3 separate regions of the Homo sapiens genome follow, and regions 2 and 3 are each linked to region 1. The links are contacts of gene promoters, found by promoter capture Hi-C in blood cells and fetal thymus (Javierre and others, 2016). All regions are on one chromosome and are shown on one strand. The core of a region is centred on a gene start or on the middle of the fragment in contact, and the rest is flanking DNA. Distances in the headings are between cores, read along the strand shown. Region 1 holds the start of FANCB (FA complementation group B). Region 2 overlaps ASB9 (ankyrin repeat and SOCS box containing 9). Region 3 has its middle 130 kb from the start of ASB9.

Region 1 (2,547 bases), core at 21-2,520:
CTGTGACATCTGGACACAGAATGTTCAACCAATAAATCAATTCTGGACTCATAGGTACTTTGCAAGATACAGTTTGGGATAAGAACTTGTTCCAGCATTGGAGGGCCTATTTTGTGGGTAGCATGCTGGGTTGTATGAAAGCCAAATCAAACAAAATATCCAAGGAATTTGTATACCCAATTAAGTACACATCAATAGTATTATGGCAGTTTCCAGGTACATTTTCGCTAGTGTTGCTGGTGAAAGGCCAGCAGTGGAACCGTGGACTGGACAATGTCACCCGTGTTGTGGGCCTAACAAGTATCCTGCAAGTTCCATAAACACGAGGGCATGCTAAAAACTTAACCGATTTCCAACTTACATTAACCCTTTAAAGGGAGCATGGGACACACCACTTGACCATTTGAAGCAGTGCACACGGCTTGTCATGGAGAGGAAAACCTTTGAGACGTGCCCAGCATCATTCCTGTGAGGGTCGAAAGGGTCCCTAACACCTCCCACAAATACACTCACAAACACTCCAGCAAAGTTGGGGATGCTCACTGCACACCTTTCTTAATACCTGGAACAGAGTACCCACCTGTCACATACTCAGCTTCGAACCTCCTCCGGGTCTCAGAGATGAGCTTGGCTTTATTCTGGGCGTGATTCTGGATGGGAGACACGATGGGACCTTAGATACTACTTGCATCAACCCGCTTACCCTCAACCCAGCCCACCTGCACACGGGCGCTCGGTCCCCGGGCCTCAGAGGCGGCTTCCGGGTCCGGGGGGCCAGCGGCGGTGCAATAGGCTCCTCACCTCTGCCATGATCACCGTCGTGGATGTGATTGCGGTTGTCGCCGTCGCCCGTTCTACCGTCGCCGACCGAGTATCTCATCACCCGGCAGTCCCGCCCAGAGGTAGACAGAGAAGGGTGGGAGGGGGAGGCGGTCGCGTGACACCGGAAGGCGGACAGAAGCGCCGCCGCACCGCCCAATCCAATGCGGACGCCTGGGTCTGGAGGCGGGACCAGGCCCTCAGCCTAGGTCCCATTCGATTCTCGTCTGGCCTCGCCCCGCGACATCCCCCGCACTGCGGTCCCGCCCCCGCCAGCCGCGAGATCGCCGGCGCTTCCCCCGCGGAGCTCCGCCCTAGAGAGCTCGCGGGCTCTCTGCTTTCACAACACTCCCCAGGGCCCCGCCTCCTCAGCCTCCCTTGGCCACCTCTCCTGGCTGGCTTCTAGGCTCCGCCTCCTCTGCGTTCGACGCAGCCTCCGCCCGGCCTCCCAGGATGCAGCGCGCTGGCGGGAGGTTTGGAGCAGATGGATACCGTATCGACGTGGGGCCTCCGGTATGTTGCCGCTGCGTTGAGGTAGGATGGGGCTGGCGAGTCTTCCCTTCCCAGGACTTCGCAGAGGGGGCGATGGGGCTGGATTTCCTCCCCTTGTCCCCGCATTGCGGGAGAGAGGGAAGGAAGCGGGCATCCCGAGACCTGGGTCTGTCATTCCTTGCAATGATAATTGGATTTTAAGTGCTACATTCGCTTGAAGTTTTTTTCATCCCTTCAGTATCCTTCCAACTTGGAGTGTGAGATGCTTAATGAGCAAAATATCTCTGAAATCTTTAATCTCAAATAATTATATAAAGTTAAAAAAAGCGTGTTTCGGCTTATTAAGGTAGTTGTGTTCAGCCGGGGGGGTGGGGGGGTGTGTGTGGGGGGGGCGGTTTTACCACCCAGGGGACCTTTGGCAACCTCTGGAGACATTTTTAGTCACCACTGCTAGGGGCCGGGGGCAAAAGAGATGCTCACTGGCTACTAGTGGATAGAGACCAGGGAAGCTGCCAAACATCCTCCAGTGTACATGAAAATTCACAACAGTTATCCAGCCCAAAATGTCAATAGTGTCAAGGTTGAGAAAGATTTAGATTTAAAGGGACTGGAACAAATTTTATTCGTCAGTTAAAAACAATTGAAAGAAAATAGTTGCGCATACAATATTGCCTTTTTTAAAGTTGAAAGATACTGAAAACTACAAACAAGTTGTAAGAATAGTCCCCCATATTTCCATCAACCGTAGTCATCCATGACAGAATGGCATGTTAGCATCTTTTGTCCTAGACTTTTAAATATATTTACATTTTTTATGGGAAAAAATGAACACATTGTTTAAACGTTGTTTGACTACATCCTTAAAAGATATTTCAGATATAACTAAAGTCTCCTTCTACCTCTACTCACCTATCCTGGACACTTCCTTGTCCAGAATCAACAGCATTCAGAATTTGGCATGAAATGTTTACAGTTTTACATTTTTTTATTTTGGATCATACTGCCTGGGTTTGAATCCTGGCTCTGTCACTTCTTATCTGCAAGCCTTTGAGAAGATCCTGAAACTCCTTGCCTCAGTTTCTCCATCTATAAAATGGGATAGTAACAGTGCCTATGTCATAAGGATGTTGTGAGGAAGAAACGAGTTAATCCAAAGTGCTTAGAGCAGTACCTGGCACTGTTTCTTCAGGAAAAAAAAAAAAAATAGTACATGGCACTATTTCTTGAGAAAGCACT
Region 2 (2,547 bases), core at 1-2,500, 370 kb before region 1:
ATTCCCCACTTCATGCAGTGGCCAGGACAGCCAGTGAAGAGCTGGCCTGCCTGCTCATGGATTTTGGAGCGGACACCCAGGCCAAGAATGCTGAAGGCAAACGTCCTGTGGAGCTGGTGCCTCCAGAGAGCCCCTTGGCCCAGCTCTTCTTGGAGAGAGAAGGTGCTTCTTTGCCAAAACCTAAGCCCTAATCTGTTGACATCCCTTGGGGCTCTAGTAGAAGGCAGGTATTTGGCAATTTCTGGCTCCCATTCCTATAAAAAGATCATTCTCTGACATCACCAAATCTGGGAAGTTGAGATAATTCAATATTCAATGAGATACAGTACTGGTCACAGTACAGTAAATAACTGTCCTGCTATTTAGCATATTGGATACAGGTTTTTGGGATGATCTAATATTCATTATGGGGTAGGCCAGTTTTTTAAAAATTAAGATACTGTTTTAAAATTTTAGTATTACATTTATTTAAAACATGCTTTAGAATGAGGCAGCAGAGTCCTCTTTGGGGTTGTAAGAGGCCGCAGGATATCTTGTTGAACCACAGATGGGCCAGACTACTGGACACTTCGTTTCTGGGCTTAAAATGCAGCTGTTTAAGAGTTTAGGGTTCACACCAATCCAAAGATATTTACTATTATAAATTAACCAATGATAAGTCCACACTTCTCTATAAGTAAGAACTGAGACTCCCAACTCGAACAATGAAATATTGTGGTTGAGCAGTGTGTATGGAAGTAGGGCTTTGAGGCCTGGGCTGGGCTGGGGAACAAAGACACCTCAAGTTGGGGAGCCACCTCTTGCAATCTTCATGGGCTCAGAGGCAGTTGAGAAACCAGCTCAGTACTTCTTTTCTTACCGGAGTATGGACTCTGAAGTCTTAGGGATTCTGGGACTTTGAAGCAGGCCTTCCTACCAGAAGGATTCTGATGTTATACAATCTAGTTATTTTCTCCCCACATGATGAGCAGTAAGGTTGGCTTTGGGCAGAACTGTAAAGTGGGCTAAGGAATCCTTCTTCCTCCTACTCTCACTGCCCCAGGGTACTTGCAGTCAAGTCCCTGCCTGGGGGCATGCCAAACAAGGCCTATGCTCCTGAGCAGTGCTGGTCAGGCAGAAAAGATTGACTCCAGGCCTGGACAAGGAACAGTCCAGTAGAGGCCCCTTACAGTTAAGCAGTGGGATAATCATGGAGCAGTTCTATCTGCATTTTAATAATTACTTGTTTTGAAAAAGTTCTATGTCTACGAGGCCCATAAAAATATCTTAATTTTTAAACAATCAGAATAAAAAATGAATAGAACAACATGGATTGTAATCATCTTTATACCAACACAGTTGTGAAATAGAATTTTTAATTGTTTTCACTGAGAAAGGGATTCATAAAGGCAAAAGTGCCTCAGGTCCCCCTCAGTCATAACGTAGGGCATACGTTAATGTAGGATGTATATGTCCCCTCCTCCATCAAACAACCTCATAGCATTCTCAAATTGCCTCCCCTGGCTTTTCCCTTCTGCTTTATTTCCCAAAGCCATTCCTAGAGACAGTAATTACTTTAATTTTGAATTTACGTTTTGCACGGTGACAGTGTGGCCTATGGTCCCACTAGTTTATGAGGTGTCATTTGCTGCTGGAGAGAATCACTACTTGTTTTGCCTCCATGAGTCAATTTTGGGGTTTTGGTGTAGTCACCTCTCAGAGGGCTCGGAGCCCACAAGAAATGGGGTCAGGAAAGTGCAGAAAACTAGACCTGTGGATTGCTCACAGCAGTTTCTGTCTCTGGGTGCCCCTACATTCATTTGCTTCAGTCCACCTGTTTCTCCGTTTCCTGGGGAAGGGAATTTATTCAATTACTGTCCTCTTTCAATGGTATGGCAACAGGAGAATGTTGGTAAAACCCAACCATGTTCTGAATTGGGCTTTGCGTGGGTGTTAGGAAAGGTAAGATTTTCCCGTTTTCTGAGAAAAGGGAAAAGATTTTAAGAATATTGCCACCTCACCCTTGATAAGCATCTAAAGCAGTGTTTGCTCAATTAAAACCTAGAAATGACTGTCAGCCCAACATGACCGCAGCCCCCATCCCCCCTCACCCAGTGCACTTTGGCTTTAAAACATCAATGGTTGTTGCTGGCCGGGCACGGTGGCTCACGCCTGTAATCTCCACACTTTGGGAGGCCAAGGTGGGTGGATCATGAGTTCAGGAGATAGAGACCATCCTGGCTAACACGGTGAAACCCCGTCTCTTCTAAAAATACAAAAAAAATTAGCCGGGCGTGGTGGCAGGCACCTGTAGTCCCAGGTACTCGGGAGGCTGAGGCAGGAGAATGGTGTGAACCTGGGAAGTGGAGCTTGCAGTGAGCTGAGATCACACCACTGCACTCCAGCCTGGGCGACAGAGTGAGACTCAGTCTCAAAAAACAAAAAACAAAACATCAATGGTTGTTGCTGGGGGAAAAAAGAAATCAAGGCCCAAAGGAATATGCCAATTCATAAATACACAATTAGCTGGTTTTATTACCGAGCAAAGCAAACCCCTTGAATATTTGC
Region 3 (2,547 bases), core at 25-2,524, 270 kb before region 1:
TCAATTTATTGCTAATTTAAAATAACACCAAATTAAAATTAGCATGGGATGTGGATGTTTAAGGATCAATAAGTTAATACTTTTGAGAGATTTAGAGTCCGTCAGCTCACATGTTTGGGGGGAGCTTACACACTACAGTTATTGCTAGAACACTAAACAGGATATCTTGGTGAGAGAGAGAGAGAGAAAGAATGAAATTTGTATCCAAATAAATCATAATCATATTTTTATCTAAAAACATTTCTACTTCTGTCCAAGAAAGATAGACAATTCAATTCTTTTGCAAATGACTTGCTACAGTCCCCTGATCACAATAAAATTTAACTCCTAACTACATATTCCCAACATATGGACCACAAGCCAAATTAATTCCCGACTACTAGCCCACTGGAAGGGAAATGCCTAGATGACTTCAAAGTGCTTATAACTGCATGAAGACCAGGGCCACTTTGTACGTGGCTATGGAAACGGGCAGTAGTGTTGGTGTCCTTAAAATCAAGTCCACTCACTTGGCCAAAATGATCATGTGCCAAATTATCAAGGAACATTGTATGAGTGATATGAGGAGATCTTCAGATGCATGCCCCTTTGACTTGTGATTGAATGGTTAGGGCCAGAAGTGGATAGATTCTGACTTTTTGAGTGGTCAGCACTATCGCCATTATTTTTTGGGGAAAATTCTTCTATGAGAAAATGCTAGGAGTATGTCCAAACAGAAGCCTTTTGTATTCATAGCTAGTTGCATCCGTAACCACCAGACAAGAGGTAAAAACTGATAAAAGCTACAGCCTTGGGGATATAACTCTGTCCCTGAGGTCTCCTCAGAGCCTCAGCTTTATACAAAATTTCTATTCCACTCTCAGGCAGCTGTTCAAAGTACAAGAATCTATTTCCCTGATGGGCAAGGAATCTCAGGATAGAAAACATATTCAGAACAAGATTACAGAATTGTACTTTTTCTTCAGTAAAAAAACCATTTTTTTTTCTTGCTTCTACAGAACATCCACAGCTGAGTCCAAATACATTTCAGTCAGATGTCCTTAAGAAAACAAGGTCTTTGGGGCTGATCTCAGACACACTGCAAAGCTCTGTTTGAGACTTTCTTTCCCATTCCTGTTGTCTCAGCCTGTTGCTTCATCTTCCAGAATCCTTTAAAGTTACCTTTTCTTTGGATTTACTACGAGGTTCAGTGCCACCAGGTGGTTCTTCCCAATTCTTCATGTTAGTCAAATTCCTGGTTTGACTTTGCCACTTAAGGACTTAGCTCTGTTCCTGAATCTTGGTCTGAGTTAATCTTGATCTGAGTTAAGTCCTGGATGGCAGAAGATGGAATGAAGGGGTGGAAGGGGCAGAAGATTAAACAGAATATCAATTAGAAGCTGTGTTTGTGGTGCTTATATTTTCAAGTAAGAGAAAATCCCAACCCAAACTCCCAATAAAAAGGGGACTTACTAGTTATCATAACTTCACATTAGTAATAGATAATTTTCAAAACAATTCCACATGTATTATTTCACTTTATTATAAAATACTCCTCTTTGCAAAATTGTTTATCACCGCACTTCAACTGAAAAAGTGCAATTCCAAAGGTGTGTTGCCAAGGGTTACGTGGCCACTAGGTGGCGAGATGAGATTCAGATTGAGGCTTCGGAACTGGTGCTCTACTATACCTCGCCACTACCAGGATTGTTTTAAATGAGAGTTGGAAGTGGGAAACAAAAAGAAGAAAATGCAGAATAAGAAGGCAGTGAGGGGGGAGACTCTGGCTCATTTCAATTAAGGACAAATTGTATAGATTTATGTTTTTTTAAAAATGGGGAGAAATTACTGAGAGCAAGAATGGGGAGAGTGTGGTAGGGAGCTGGCTTCCTAGAGAAGGCTGGGGAATGGGGCTGGTGTTGGGGTGGGAGTCAGCAACTAAAGGCCAAATCCACCTCTTCATGGTCTGACCTTCCAATGATACAAACCCTGCACATACAATGCGTTCCTTATATTTTGGCTTCTATTTGCTTATGTTGAAACAGGTCTTTATGAACTTATACCATACAAAGATGTGGTCTCATGTTTGTCAAAACAATTATCCAAGGTCACACAGACCATTTGCAGATATTTCAACTCAAGAGCTCTGTCCTCACCTGTCACAGTAGGGACACTTTCATTCAGAAGGAGGGAAACCAAGTGAGAAAGGGCAGAAAGGAGTCACCTTTATATTGAATTGCTTAAAATGAGTTCAGCTAGTCTCCTGAACTTTGCCAGTGCTGCCTTCATAGCTGACAACAGCTTTCTTTTGATTTGAAGTTTTGCTTTCCTTGTAAGATCTTTAAAAACACACACACACACACCAAAAACCCTTTCCTCCAAGAGTTTTCATTAATTCAGGATGAGTTAGTCCTTATGCTTCTGTTTTTCTGCCTGTGACATGGTTTGTGGTCAGCTGCTAGATTAAATAGTGAAGGCTCACTCTGAAGATCTCAATTGGAGCCACAAAGAAGTTACTGAAAGAAAGAGAAACAGAAAGAACTGAAGAGTCGTTGTGTAATCACCCAC

The links. Contacts are between HindIII fragments. The CHiCAGO score rates a contact against its expected background, and 5 or more counts as called.
Region 2: a fragment that was not itself captured here is called in contact with the fragment with the promoter of FANCB in region 1 in 1 of 17 cell types (M2 macrophages); the score reaches 5.4 in M2 macrophages.
Region 3: a fragment that was not itself captured here is called in contact with the fragment with the promoter of FANCB in region 1 in 1 of 17 cell types (activated CD4 T cells); the score reaches 5.6 in activated CD4 T cells.

The regions. Positions count from the first base shown.
Region 1 is chrX:14,871,792-14,874,338 of GRCh38, reverse strand. FANCB (FA complementation group B) reads left to right here and starts at 1,270. Exons shown (of 10, transcript NM_001018113.3): 1 at 1,270-1,353. It overlaps MOSPD2 (motile sperm domain containing 2), which reads right to left and starts at 918. Exons shown (of 15, transcript NM_152581.4): 1 at 802-918; 2 at 581-650. The coding sequence starts at 810. RefSeq lists a silencer at 951-1,180. The HindIII fragment of the contact is 4,870 bases long and covers 1-2,547 here.
Region 2 is chrX:15,246,359-15,248,905 of GRCh38, reverse strand. It overlaps ASB9 (ankyrin repeat and SOCS box containing 9), which reads left to right. Exons shown (of 7, transcript NM_001031739.3): 6 at 1-162. Among named protein-coding and RNA genes, the nearest start is that of ASB9, 22 kb to the left of the region's middle. The HindIII fragment of the contact is 5,569 bases long and covers 1-2,547 here.
Region 3 is chrX:15,142,582-15,145,128 of GRCh38, reverse strand. No RefSeq gene overlaps it. Among named protein-coding and RNA genes, the nearest start is that of ASB9, 130 kb to the left of the region's middle. The HindIII fragment of the contact is 3,441 bases long and covers 1-2,547 here.